Linked DNA regions of Homo sapiens: regions 2, 3 and 4 are each linked to region 1. The links are contacts of gene promoters, found by promoter capture Hi-C in human tissues and cell types (Jung and others, 2019). All regions are on one chromosome and are shown on one strand. The core of a region is centred on a gene start or on the middle of the fragment in contact, and the rest is flanking DNA. Distances in the headings are between cores, read along the strand shown.

Evidence for each region. Contacts are between HindIII fragments. The study calls those that stand out against the background at their distance.
Region 2: a fragment that was not itself captured here is called in contact with the fragment with the promoter of MNS1 in region 1 in 1 of the 25 tissues and cell types used here (dorsolateral prefrontal cortex).
Region 3: a fragment that was not itself captured here is called in contact with the fragment with the promoter of MNS1 in region 1 in 1 of the 25 tissues and cell types used here (lymphoblastoid cells).
Region 4: a contact is called between a fragment that was not itself captured here and the fragment with the promoter of MNS1 in region 1, in 2 of the 25 tissues and cell types used here (lymphoblastoid cells and mesendoderm cells).

The regions. Positions count from the first base shown.
Region 1 is chr15:56,463,803-56,467,566 of GRCh38, forward strand. MNS1 (meiosis specific nuclear structural 1) reads right to left here and starts at 1,335. Exons shown (of 10, transcript NM_018365.4): 1 at 1,168-1,335; 2 at 224-445. The coding sequence starts at 1,170. RefSeq lists a silencer at 1,265-1,514. The HindIII fragment of the contact is 6,259 bases long and covers 1-3,764 here.
Region 2 is chr15:56,197,589-56,201,023 of GRCh38, forward strand. All of the region lies in intron 2 of RFX7 (regulatory factor X7), which reads right to left. Among named protein-coding and RNA genes, the nearest start is that of RFX7, 45 kb to the right of the region's middle. The HindIII fragment of the contact is 4,144 bases long and covers 1-3,435 here.
Region 3 is chr15:55,987,262-55,990,806 of GRCh38, forward strand. All of the region lies in intron 1 of NEDD4 (NEDD4 E3 ubiquitin protein ligase), which reads right to left. Among named protein-coding and RNA genes, the nearest start is that of NEDD4, 4.6 kb to the right of the region's middle. The HindIII fragment of the contact is 4,583 bases long and covers 1-3,545 here.
Region 4 is chr15:56,827,574-56,831,524 of GRCh38, forward strand. No RefSeq gene overlaps it. Among named protein-coding and RNA genes, the nearest start is that of LINC03065, 58 kb to the right of the region's middle. The HindIII fragment of the contact is 8,071 bases long and covers 1-3,951 here.

The DNA of each region.
Region 1 (3,764 bases), core at 85-2,584:
AACTTACTCAAGGGTCCGTAGCTAAGGTATAGCAGTAGTAGGATTCAAAGACAGGCCGGCTCCAGAAACCCAGGTCTTTACGATTACACCGAGCTGAGGCACAATCAGGCATCACTTACCTGCTGCTGTTGTTTATCTACTCATTTCCAGCATTAACAGCTGACTTTCATCGTTTCCAAGGTGCAAAATGAAAAAAAAAGTAACAATGAATAGTAAAACTTACCTTTTGAATGGCCTCTTCCATATCCAACTCAAATTGTTCATTTTGTAATAATCTGAGAAATTGCTTGCGCTGAACACGGTTATCATTTTCATTCTGCACCATTTGATTCCTGATTTGACTGTTGACGTTTTTTAGAGCTTGGACATGTAATTTTTTGCAGTAGTTTTCATCTACTAATTTCTGATGCCTTTCACTACAGCTCAAATTTCTCCTTTTGGAACCCTACGATGGAAGAAAAAAAAAGATGCATATTTTGATATTCCAAAATCTAATTTTAAAAAATGTATTGATATAAACCTTAGTAAGAAAGGATACGAAGAGCCTGGCTTCCTTCCTAAATTCAAAGGAGTATACCGAATAAAAAGTAAACGTGGTAAATATGTTCACATATCGATTAAATAGGTACTGTTATTATTACCTATTTTATAGATGAAACATGAAAAGTAACTTTACCCAAGGTTCTGCAGCTAATAAATAGCTGTGCTAGGATTAATCGCACCCTACAGACCCAGATCTTTACTACCACCAGGGAATTTCTCCTCCCCTCATTCCACCCACCACCACCACCACCACGACTACCACCACAGGGCCATAAAGTGCTGTTCAGAAGCTGGTCAGATTTTCCTAACATAAATGTAATAGGTCAATTCGCCGCTATTTATCAATTCGCTTTCTCCTACACTTTTATATCTACTTATTTCTTCAGAGGTTCTATTGGGCAGATTTAAAGATGTATTTAATACACTATGCGAAAAGTGCCAAAAAAGCTGGAAACCACCGCGAGCGTCCCTTCTAATAGCACCTGAAGCCTCCGAAAGCAAATACAAGTTCCCCAATTAATGACCAGATTAAGCACTTAAAATCCTTTTTTAGAAGCAGATGAGCGCCAAACTAGAATTAAATCAACAATAAACAAGTAGTTTCAAGTCCCCCAACTGGCTCACCATCTTGGCTGACGAAAAATACCCCCTCTCGTGGGACCGCGGCCACCACCTCCCGCCGCAAACGCAGCAGCCAGCAGCCCCAAGGAGCGCACCTGGCTGCGCGCGCTCGGGTGTTTACGCGGCGTCTTGGCAACGGTGGAGCTGCGCGCCCTCCGCTCGACCAAAAGTGACCCACGCAGAACGTGGCCTCCCATTGGACGCGATAAGATACAATCGGCATTGAGCTTCTTAGGACCAGGGCAGGAGGGCTACTTCTATAGGTCTAAACTAGAAAAGCGGGAAGTTCAGACTGTGGCCTGACCCAAGCACTTTGCAGTGGGCTAGGGAAGCTCGATTTCCCTCCAGCGGCCGAACTGTGGTTTCAGTGGGTTTGGGAGCCAAGTTCGGGACTGTGGAGACTGCGCACAGAGAAATACGCAAACTACTGCCTAATGCATGGAGCCGAAGGAAATTTCCACGCATGGAGCATCCCGCACACTAAGTGCCTAGTCAGCCAGGTCTCTGCTAGGGACGATGACTGGTTTAATCCTCAGCAATGGGAGTCCAGGTCGCTGTCCCCTTTGCTGGGTTGTGAGGCACTGAGGGTAGCACGAGCTTCCAGCAGCCTTCACTTCACCCCCCCGCCCCCCCCCCCCCCCCGCAGAAGCTGCTGGTAAATTTTGGGACTAAAATCTATGAGCCACATGAATCTTACTCTGCTATGTGGTCCAGGTACCAAGAGAGAGCACGTTACATGATGGCAGGATGTTGATCTGGTTCATTCCATAGGCAGGTTAGACACTAAAGTCCATTTTAAATGGGAAGTTTAAGAATGATAATGGATCAGAGAAATTAGATATACTGATTTTAGAAATGATACATTCAGAGAAATCTTGTCAACACTAAAATATTTGTATAAGGTGATTAGTGGTATAACTTTGTGTTATTCTAATTTGGAGTCCGTCTTCTGTAGCAATATGTCTGCTTAAAGATTAATAACAAATGGGACTTGCAGTTTCAGTGCTGACGTGTAAAAGCTTGGAAGTTGTCACCCCATCCTTACAACCAGATCAAAACAACTAAAAATCAGCGACTTCTCTTGGTTCCATCATACAACTGAGGTCGCTCGTCTCTCTGTCCTTTGGTCATTTATCCCGTGGTTGCATATCTATGTTGTCTCTAGTACTCCACTCATTGCCATCACTGTTTGAGAGAAATGGAGAGAAGGCGTAAACCTGCCCTCTGGGTGTTCTGTGTAAATTGATCTGGAATGGAGCAAAGCAGGCAGCCTGCTATAAATTTCTCTTCTTGGCATATCCATCTCCGCAAAGGGTTGGGCACTGTATAGAAGAGACAGGAGACAGGCATGGGTTCAGGGTTGAACAGGGTATAACACATTCAATAGAGTGTGGGGTTTAATTTGTTAATTCCTAATAGTGAAATAGTGACATTGCAAAGTATTTCAGCAAACATGTATGTTTTTTACTGTTTACTTCTCGAAATGAAGACTTTCGTCTCTAAAGGGAACTTCAGTTATAATTCCTCATTTCCAGTATACCCTTGGATATGGTAGAAGGATTCATATAATTTCATAGGTAATCTGAGAAAAAGATTTTTGGCCAGAATATTGACCTAAATCCAAGACAAATTTAATCAATTGTAACAATTAGCTGATTTTAACCTTTAAAAAATTATCCTAACAATTACTACATTTTTAATAGACTTTGCTCCTTTTTCGAAGCAGTTTTAGGTTTACAGAAAAATTGACAGAATACAGAGAATTCCCCGTCTCACCTCTCCTCCCCACCGCACCCATACAATTTCCCCTATTTTTAGCATTACATATTAGTGTAGTACATTTGTTACACTTGACGAACCAATATTAATATGATTAAGTTCGTAATTGACATTAGGGTTCACTCTTTGTTTTGTACAGGTCTATGAGGATTTGTTTTGTTTTTTTTCTGAGATGAAGTCTGGCTATGTTGCCCAGTCTGTAGTGCAGTGACATGATCTCGGCTCACTGCAACCTCTACCTCCCAGGTTCAAGCGATTCTCCTGCCTCAGCCTCCCAAGTAGCTGAGACTACAAGCAAATTTTTGTATTTTTAGTGGAGACGGAGTTTCACCAGTTTGGCCAGGCTGGTCTTGAACTCCTGACCTCAAGTCATACACCCACCTTGGCCTCCCAAAGTGCTGGGAGTATAGGCATGAGCCACTGCTCCCAGGTGGGTTTTGAGAAATACATAATGTCATGTATCTGGCCAGGAGTGGTGGCTTGCACCTGTAATCCCAGTTACTTGGGAGACTGAGGCAAGAAGGTTGCTTGAGGTCAGAAAATTGAGACATATTGTCATATATCTATTATTACAGTATCATACAGAATAGTTTCACTGCCTAAAAAGTCTCTGTGTTCTACCTATTCATTTCTCCCTCACTCCTTCCTCCCAAACCCCTGGGAACCACTAATCTTTCTATTGTTTCTATAGATTTGCCTTTTCCAGAATGTCGTATCTTTGGAATCATACAGTATGTAGCCTTTTCAGACCGGCATCTTTCCCTTAGCAAAACTCATTTAAAGGTTCCTGCAAATCTTTATGTGACTTGATAGCTCATTTA
Region 2 (3,435 bases), core at 320-2,819, 270 kb before region 1:
TTAACCTGCTTCCTAAGTCTAGCACTTTGCCTGGTACACGTTAGGCAATTATAAACATGTGACCAATAAAAGGAAGGATGGAAGAAAGAGAAGGGAGAGAAAGGGAAGCAAAGTAGGGATAGGAGTGTGGAAAAAAAGTATTTGGATCATGGTCTTTGATACAAACTATATATTTGAACCACAGAAGTCAAAGGGTATTAAAACAGATTCAAGGGGTGGACTGCAGGAAGATGGGCTTTCCAGGATTCTGGAATGCTAGAGGTAAATATACCACTTAAGTGCATCTGGGCACTGACTCTGCTTTCTCTCCCCCAGGATGAGAATATGGTCTTGCTAGTGCTGAATTAGTTCAAAATCCAGAAAATTGTGATGTTATAAATATCATTTATTAAGTCTTTGCAGAATGTTCAAGAAAGCCTAGGTACAAAAAGGCAATGATATATTCAGAACTTGATACAGCAATGCTAGCTGAACCTTTCTCGTAGGGACGGTGGCTATATGTACCACAGGAAACCTAAAGAGATGGGAAAAACTTTTTTAGATATACTGTATTTGCTGCTATTCAGAATAGTCACTTGGTTTCTACATTCTTAACTAAATAATTTAGGAGCATACAACAGGTGGGTAATAGCCTCTTCCCAACAATCCCTAACCTGAAGTTCAAAGGTGGAATGCTGTAGTGGAGGCAGTATAAAAAAGAAAAAAAAGAATGGGACCTAGAATGACTTTTGCCTCAGACGCCCTCAAAAGAAAAACATCTCTCCCTAGAGCAACGTATGTCTAGTTCAGTATAGTCAAGGAAATATGTTCCATTAGAGTAAAAGGGACTCAGCCTCCCAATGTAAGTACGCAACACCACCTACAAAGTATTCTTGCTGAAATATTGAAACATATCTCTATTTAACTACCAATTTATAGTAATAAAGGGGAAGAGGAATATGCTACATAGCACCATGAAGATAAAATCAGCAAATCCAGACTGTGGGAAACTCCATAGGACAAAGGATCCAATTTCTTCAACAAATAAAAAACTTCAAGAAAAAATTTTTTAAAGGGATCTACAGTTTGAGAGATATCCACCAGTAGCCATAAGGACACTGATTCAAACAAACTGTAAATGTGATATGATGTCTGGGATTCCCTTCAAAATAACCAATGAAGACTTACAGATAAATAAGATTAGCTATGAAACTAATTGTTAAAGTTGAATAATAAAGACCTGAGAGTTCATTGTCTTTTCTCTCCTTTTGTATACATTCGAAATTTTTTACAATGAAAAGTTAAAAGAGGGGACTGGGTGTGGTGGCTCAGGCCTGTAACCCAGCACTTTGGGAGGCCAAGATGGAAGGATCACTTGAGGCCAGGAGTTCAAGACCAGCCTGTTCAACATAGCAAGACCCCATCTCTGACAAAGAAAAAAAAAAAAGTTAAAAGAGAGGAAGGACTTAGCAGATCCTTTTAAAAGGAAAAGCAAATAAACCATGTAGGACCTACAGCTAAGAGACTGCAGTCTGACACCTAAAAACCTTCTGATGTTGATTTAAACTGTGAAAAACTTAAAATTTACAAGAGAAGGCTGTAAATCAAAGATTCAACCACTATAACCAGTCTACTGAGTGACTGTTAATCAGTATTTACTTAAGTTACCACTGAGTGATACTGAAAGAATATTATTTGAAAGTGTAGGATATAATGACTCATTTTTGCTTTCTAATGAGTTATTTTCCTTTTTTGCTGTCCTTCCACGTATAGGTATCTTTCCTTACGTGATTGCTGGTTGCTCCAAATGCTGAATTTTACCATTGTAATATTTAAAAATAGCTAATTTGCTCTAACAGGATTGTAAAAATATGTATTTTGGGGAGGCAGAGTACTGAACAAATTGTGCTGCTCTCTTTAGCCTCAATCTATATGCCTTCCCTGTTTTCTTTAATGCAAGCATTTTCAGGTTGATATTAATATTAAAAGCTCAAAGAGTCAACAGGATTCAAATATGTCAAATAACAGGAAAGCATTTGCACATATAATATACTCCTTAAAGTTAAGAAGATCTTCAAATAAATTTATTTAGTAAGAAACACCATGGTAAATATAGCAGGAACCAAAAACATGGTCTTGACAGGAAGAATTCCAATTCTGCAACTACTAGCTATATGCCCTTGACTTAGAAGAATCATTTTTCCCGAGGCATACTACATCTCGAGTTTTTAAAATAAAGATTCAACATTTACATAAAAAGCCATATTGTAATAACAAGCATGTAATAGGTTCTTAATAAATGCTACATTAAAACTAAATCTAGTCTAACCCTTTCATTTACAAATTAGGATAAAAAATGACTTGTACAAGGTCACACACTGATTTTTATTTGGCTCCATTATCCAGTTAAAAATGCTATGATTATGTCTGATAATAATGCCTCCACTTTACACTGGGATTTTAATCAAGAAGAATATTTTGTGCCCCAGTCTTACCATTTTGGAACTTCCTCTGTCATAGAAACATTATATATTGTCAGTAAATAAGCTGAATTAAAGGTCAGTGCCCTCTAGTGCTGAACCTTCAGAGGTAGGTGCAGGTTCCAAATACAGGCAAATTTACCTAGTCTACAGAACAGGAAACAATCTCCATAAAAATAATGAAATGAAAACATGAGATAGCTACATGCACAGCGACCCATCTGTAAGGATGACTGTTCTCTCTGGGAGATGAGATTTTAAGCCTTTACTTTCTTTTCAAACATTTAAAAAGCTTTTAAAACTTTTTGTTATTGTTTAAGTTTTTATAACATATAAAACATTTAAAAAGAAGCTAAAACACAGGGCAAGATAACATCACTGGATTGCACAGTGGGGAAAACAACTCTTCTTCTCCTACTGCATAGTTTCAGAGGAAGTTACAAACCATGCAGCTTAGTATCTAATGTTACATTAAGAAAAAGTCGTAAAAGTGCTGTAATCCCAGCACTTTGGGAGGCCGAGGTGGGCGGATCACGAGGTCAGGAGATCGAGACCATCCTAGCCAACATGGTAAAACCCTGTCTCTACTAAAAATACAAAAATTAGCTGGGTGTGGTGGTGCATGCCTGTAATCCCAGCTACTCGGGAGGCTGAGGCAGGAGAAATGCTTGAATGAGGGAGTCGGAGGTTGCAGTGAGCAGAGGTCGCACCACTGCACTCCAGCCTGGCAAGCCTCGCCGTCTCAAAAAGAAAAAAAAAGAAAAAGTTGTGTCAGAGATAAGGCAGATCTTTAAATTGAGAAAAACAAGAGGATAAATGTGACTTCAATTTTTTGAATGTACTTTAGGTGCCACTAATAGGTGACATGCTATGTATGTACAAGTCTTTTTTTTTTTAACTGAAAAGCATTAAACCAGCCCATGGTATTAGGTGCTTAAATGATTATAAAAAAGAAAACCAAAATGGAAATGGTTTA
Region 3 (3,545 bases), core at 789-3,288, 480 kb before region 1:
AATGTCTTCTTTTGAGAAGTGTCTGTTCATGTCCTTCGCCCACTTTTTGATGGGGTTGTTTGTTTTTTTCTTGTAAATTTGTTTGAGTTCATTGTAGATTCTGGATATTAGCCCTTTGTCAGATGAGTAGGTTGCGAAAATTTTCTCCCATGTTGTAGGTTGCCTGTTCACTCTGATGGTAGTTTCTTTTGCTGTGCAGAAGCTCTTTAGTTTAATTAGATCCCATTTGTCAATTTTGGCTTTTGTTGCCATTGCTTTTGGTGTTTTGGACATGAAGTCCTTGCCCACGCCTATGTCCTGAATGGTAATGCCTAGGTTTTCTTCTAGGGTTTTTATGGTTTTAGGTCTAACGTTTAAATCTTTAATCCATCTTGAATTGATTTTTGTATAAGGTGTAAGGAAGGGATCCAGTTTCAGCTTTCTACATATGGCTAGCCAGTTTTCCCAGCACCATTTATTAAATAGGGAATCCTTTCCCCATTGCTTGTTTTTCTCAGGTTTGTCAAAGATCAGATAGTTGTAGATATGTGGCATTATTTCTGAGGGCTCTGTTCTGTTCCATTGATCTATATCTCTGTTTTGGTACCAGTACCATGCTGTTTTGGTTACTGTAGCCTTGTAGTATAGTTTGAAGTCAGGTAGTGTGATGCCTCCAGCTTTGTTCTTTTGGCTTAGGATTGACTTGGCGATGCGGGCTCTTTTTTGGTTCCATATGAACTTTAAAGTAGTTTTTTCCAATTCTGTGAAGAAAGTCATTGCACACGTATGTTTATTGCGGCACTATTCACAATAGCAAAGACTTGGAACCAACCCAAATGTCCAACAATGATAGACTGGATTAAGAAAATGTGGCACATATACACCATGGAATACTATGCAGCCATAAAAAATGATGAGTTCATGTCCTTTGTAGGGACATGGATGAAATTGGAAACCATCATTCTCAGTAAACTATCGCAAGAACAAAAAACCAAACACCGCATATTCTCACTCATAGGTGGGAATTGAACAATGAGATCACTTGGACACAGGAAGGGGAATATCACACTCTGGGGACTGTGGTGGGGTCGGGGGAGGGGGGAGGGATAGCATTGGGAGATATACCTAATGCTAGATGACACGTTAGTGGGTGCAGCACACCAGCATGGCACATGTATACATATGTAACTAACCTGCGCAATGTGCACATGTACACTAAAACTTAGAGTATAATAAAAAAAAAAATTAAAAAAAAAAAAAAAAAAAGAAAAACTGAGGAAATGTTACAGATTAGAAGAGACTGCAAAGACATGCCACGTAAAAGCAATATATGTTCCCAGATAGGTTCTTAGACCAGAAAAGGAAAAAGAGAAATTATTAGTAACATTTATCAAAATTTGGATGGTATCTGTGGATTGAATGGCATTGTTGTATCAGTGTCCATTTCCTAGCTTGGAAGGGGGTATGGTTGTTATGCAGGAAAGTATTCTTGTTTTAGAAAAATACACACTAGAGTATTTAAAGATGATGGGGCATTGTGTCTGCAGCTTGCTCTCAAGTGGTTCAGAAAAAGATTAATGAAAATGGCAAAAAAAGGTGATGGAACAATTGCAGTGAAAAGGTTAACAGTTGCAGAATCTGTATGAGAAGAATACTGGAGCTCTTTGTGTTGTACTTTCAACTTTTCTGATGGTTTAAAATAATTTTAAAATAGGACGGGCGCGGTGCCTCACGCCTATAATCCCAGCACTTTGGAAGGCCGAGGCAGGCGGATCATCTGAGGTCAGGAGTTCGAGACCAGCCTGGCCAACATGGTAAAACCCCATCTCTACCAAAAATACAAAAATTAGCTGGGCGTGGTGGTGCGTGCCTATAATCCCAGCTACCCTGGAGGGTGATGCAGGAAAATCGCTGGAACCTGGTAGGCAGAGGGTGCAGTGAGCTGAGATCACGCCATTGCACTCCAGCCTGTGTGACAGAGCAAGACTCCGTCTCAAAAGTAAATACATAATTTAAAAATAAATTATTTTAAAAATACACTATATTTATTCACTTCTTTAGTCCCTGCTCCATGAAAAATACTTTACAATGATCCTGGAATTAAAGAGTTGCAAAAAAGCACTAATGGCAAAAACAATACATGAAAGATTGGGAGAAATTACTAATACAGCTGCTGCTTAACCTATGCTTCTCCTCCTTTGTGTGTAGTACATAAAGGTTTGGGAAGTTTGTTCCCAGACTGAGTAAGGGTCAGTTTCTGCTCAGCCTTAGTGGGTCCAGAAGTATCAGAATATGCCCTTCTTACCCTGCTACTTATGCACTGTTGTGGCTGCTGCCACCAGGGGCATCTATTATTCTGTATGTGCAAACTGCACTCTCCATACCGATAGCGGAGACTCTGAACTCTTTCCTCTTTATTTCCTTCCTTCTTTTCCTTGCTTCAGTCAGCCTTTCTTATAGGAAACAGAAATCATTCTAGATGCTTTAAGAAGAAAGAAGCTAATACAGGGGATTAGATGCTTACAAAATTTTTGGAAGAGCTGGAAGAGTAGGTGCTAGGCTGGACTTCTAGAGCAGGGGTCCCCAACCTTAGGAACCAGCCACACAGCAGGAGGTGAGTGGCAGGCCAGTGAGCAAAGCTTCATCTGTATTTACAGCCACTCCTCACCGATCACATTACCTCCGGAGCTCTGCTGCCTGTCAGATCAGCAGCGGCATTAGATTCTCATAAGAGCATGAACCCTATTGTGAACTGTCCATGCAAGCGATCTAGGTTGTGTACCCCTTATAAGAATCTAATGCCTGATGATTTGTCACTGTCTCCCTGTCTCCCATTACCGTCACCCACACTTGGGACCATCTAGTTGCAGGAAAACAAGCTCAGGGCTCCCACTAATTCTACATTACGGTGAGCTGTATAATTACTTCATTACATATCACAATGTAATCATAATAGAAGTAGAGTGCACCATACATGTAATGTGCTTGAATCATCCTGAAACCACTGGACCGCATCCCCGGTCCATGGAAAAACTATCTTCCATGAAACCGGTCCCTGGTGCCAAAACAGTTGGGGACTGCAGTTCTAGAAGATCAGAAACATGGCAGAACTGACCCATCCAGGAAGCTACTACCTCTCCCAGTCAGAAAGGTAGATGATCAGGAGTCATCACCAGAACTGATGACTTCAAGAATATAATCAATCTTGACGTCTGGAAGCCACTACCACCACTACTTCGGTGACTTCCTATCAATATGTACAAAGCAAGTTACCAGATACTGGAATACTTTCGCAGAAAATTTAGATGTTTACATGACTGTGCTTATCAGCAGAAAAAGCCAAAGAAACAAAACAATATGCTCCACCTCATTTCCACTCTGCAAATCTCAAGTAAGTGCACTTAACTGGGGAGCCTACTTTGGATCCAGTCCATTAATTTCAATGGAGTGTGGGAAACAGTGTTTAGTTTTCCCACCTCCATATCACAGGGAGGTGCATGGGAAGGAGGTGGGAAGTGATGCTCAATTCCAGTCCCCGCATCCACCACACTGCTCTCCAATAAAGA
Region 4 (3,951 bases), core at 1,235-3,734, 360 kb after region 1:
CAGACTTTTTCATTCAGTGAAGACAAAAATAGGTGAGCTCTCTTTACTTCTTTTGTAAGTATATTTTTGATACCCAAACTGGAAAAAGACAATACGAGAAAAGAAAATCGTTGTTTTTTCTCACTTTTGGGCACATGTGCTCAAATATTTTAAAATATCATCTAATTGAATTCAGCAATGCATTAAGACATCATATTAGATAAGGCACAAAGCAGATATAATAAAATAATTATAGAATCTGGTTGGTGGGCATAAGGGTGTTCACCGTACAGGCCAAATTTTTCGTATGTTTGAAGTTTTCCTTATTAAAACCTTGCAAAAAGTAAGAAACGAAATCATTACGTATTTACCACCTGTAAAAACATATCATGACAGAATACCAAGAATGGTTGAATATTAAAAATCTATCAGTGTAATTCACCTCATTGATATAGATGATAAATTTTATCAGGAAAATGAGGTTGTAGTCCACTTCCAGTTTGCCAATAGCTTTTTTTCCCATAAATTGCTTTTTCATCAATTATATAATTATATAATTGAGCTTGGCTGTGAGTGGCAGAAAACTCCAAACTATATAGAATTTTATTTCTCTCCTAAGTAGAAGACTGATTAGGTGGCCCAGAGCCAAGTTACTTCCAATATTTTGATGTTTGGTAAGATCTCTGTTCCTAAGATCACATCAAGTACAATATGATTGCGCGAATTCCAGTCATTACATCTGCATTCTAGGTGGCAGGAAGGAGAAAAGGGAGGAGTGATTATGTTTCCACTTTAGGGGTACTACTGGAATTTGCATATATCACTTCTACTTACATCCCAATGGCAGGAACTATGTTATATGCCCTCACCCACTGGAAGGTGGCATTGAAATGCAGGCAATTTTCTTGACACTGATGTCTCCAAATAAAATAGAGATTATACAGAGGCAAAAAGGGAGAACCAATGTGAGAGGGAGGGATCAGCAATCTCTCCCAAGTATAAAGTTACCAAAAACCCACAGAAAACCTGATGCTTAGTGGTCAAACGTTAGAAGCATTCTCTTTAGAGTCAGGAGCAAGTCAAGAGTGTCTGTTATTACAGCTTCTCTTAACCATTATATTAATATTAAAAGTCCTAGCCAGTGCCAATACTCTTTAAAAGAATAAGAATTAGAAAGAAGGGGAAAAATTGTTCTTATTTATAAACTATCTGATAATTTACATTAAAAATGCAGGAGAGTGTGTAGACAAACAATTCAAACAGGAAAATTCAGCATTCTGAATACATGTTCAGGATATGGTGTGAGAGGAGAAAAAATTTGTGTGTGTGTGTGTGTGTGTGTGTGTGTGTGTGTGCTCTCCCATTTAGAATAGATATCTAGGCAGAAATATCTGCAAGACCTATTTAGGCAAAATTATAAAACACGACATAAAATATGCACTGGATAAATGATGAGACACTGAGGGATGGAAAGATAATTGTGTCAATCTGGCAGATCACCCTGTGAATTTATAATGAATCTATGAATCATTGTAATTCCAACCAGAATCCCAACAAGGCTTCATGGAATTTAACAATCTAACCCAAAAGTTGGTGTGGAAGATTAGACACTCAACTAGCACAGAAATGTTCAAAAAAGAAAACTAAGGAGAGGTGATTTGCCCTACCAGGCTAATTATACAAGGTTATAATTCTTTTAAGAAGTGCGGCTTTGGGGACAGGAATATAAAAATAGGCTGAAAGGGCCTGGCGTGGTGGCTTACACCTGTAATCCCAGCACTTTGAGAGGCCGAGGTGGGAGGATCACTTGAGGTTAGAAGTTAGAGACCAGCCTGGCCAACATGGTAAAACCCCGTCTCTACTAAAAATACAAAAATTAGGTGGGTGTGGTGGTGCATGCCTGTGATTCCAGCTACTCTGGAGGCTGAGGTATGAGAATTGCTTGAACTCGGGAGGCAGAGGTTGCAGTGAGCTGAGATCATGCCACTGCACTCCAGCTTGGGTAACAAAGCGAGACTCTGTCTCAAAAATTAAAAAGTAAAAATAGGCCAAAAGAATGGAATAAAGGGTATAGATACTGACAAATACATACATGGAAAATTGATATGGAACAGAAGTCTCTTACATATCAGCAGGGAGTGGCAAACATTAGCTAAGTGGTCCTAAGACAACTGGCTATGTACAGGGAAAAGGAATTTACATCCCCATTTCATACCACAACAAAATACATCCTACATGGGCTAAAAACCTTAAATGTATGGTAGGGTGACAGGGGGAATCTTAAAATTACAAAGTAAATACAGGAGAATGTCTTCATTACATTTTCAGTTTTCTTAAATAAAATAACAAAAGCATAAATGATAACAGTGATCATTTGAATACATTTAAATATTAAAATTCTATGAAACAAAAGACGCCAGACACAGTGAAAATGCAAGCCATTGGAGAAGTTAATTATAGTATATATTACTGGGTATTAGCATCAAGAGTATTTTTAAATCTCTATAAATGAATAAGAAAAAAGCAAGCAATACAGTAGAAAATTTGTCGATGATATCAACAGTTAATTGTTAGAAGGAAACTAAACAGCCAAAAAACATAAAAGATACTCAACTTCAGTAATAAATGCAAATTAAAACCACAATGAAGTACTATTTCACATCCATCAGAAGGGCAAAATTTAGAAGTCTGAGAAGCCCAAGTGTTGGTAAGGATGTGGAAGAAAAAGAAAAAAAGAACTTGTAAATATGGCTGGTGTGAATGTGTATTGTAGAAAATCACATTGGAGGACAATGTTGCAATATCAAACAAAGTTGATGAGCACATGCTAACCTATGACCTAGCAATTCTGCCTGTGGGTATGTATCCTAAAAAATTCTCACGCATATGCCCAAGGAGAAATGAAATACATTGTTTTTTGTAGCACCGTTTTTAATAGCAAAACATTGGAACCAACCTAAATGTTCAAAAATATAATTGTGGACAGGGCTCAGTGGCTCATACCTTTATCCCAGCACCTTGGGAGACCAATGTGGGCAGGCGGACCTCTTGAGCCCCAGAGTTCAAGACTGGCCTGGGCAACATGGTAAAACTTTGCCTCCACAAAAAATACAAAAATTAGCCCGGCATGGTGGCTCATGCCTGTAGTCTCAGCTACTCAGAAGGCTGAGGTGGGAGGATTACCTGAGCCTGGGGAGATTGAGGCTGCAGGGACCTGAGATCACAACACTGCACTGCAGCCTGGGTGACAGAATGAGACCTTGTCTCCAAAAAAAAAAAAAAAAAGAAAGAAAAAGGGAAAAAAAAGAATGGTGGATCAATAAATGGTGCCAAAGTCACACAATGAAATATCAACTATGTATGTGCAAAATATGTAAGAACCAGGAAGGAAGGATACATGCTAATTTCAGGATAGTGATTATCTCTGGGCAGAGAGCAATGGAATTGGGCAGTGGGTGCTATGGTTAAAATGTATCTGTAATGTTAAAACAAACAAGCAAAAAACTCTAAAGTCAGGCAAGATGTCAACATTGGTTAAATCTATGAAAAACAATAAGCCTGGATCATACTGCAGACTAATAAGAAATGATTTCCAGAACTACTTCAGAAGAGTGTGGGGTGTGGACTACCATGTGTGTAATGCTGAAGAAGAGGATGAGCTTGTTTGTGCAGACTTCCTAATGACACAAAATAAATTGGCAACAGTGATGGCCTCTGAGGGAGAGGGACACAGGAGACTGGCATAAGCAGAGGAAAAAGACCTTTACATCCTTTTTCTATTATTTGCCTGTTTTATCACTTGCATATATTTTCTCAATAGTAAAAAAATTAAAGCAAAAATATATTTTTAATAAAAATGATTCCTACCGCAACAATGCACTTAAAGCCAAAATTACAATTTTGAGGGACATTTTGCATGAAGTATAAGTGTACCCTTATGCTTGCCACCTTCCCAAATGACTGATTTTTCTA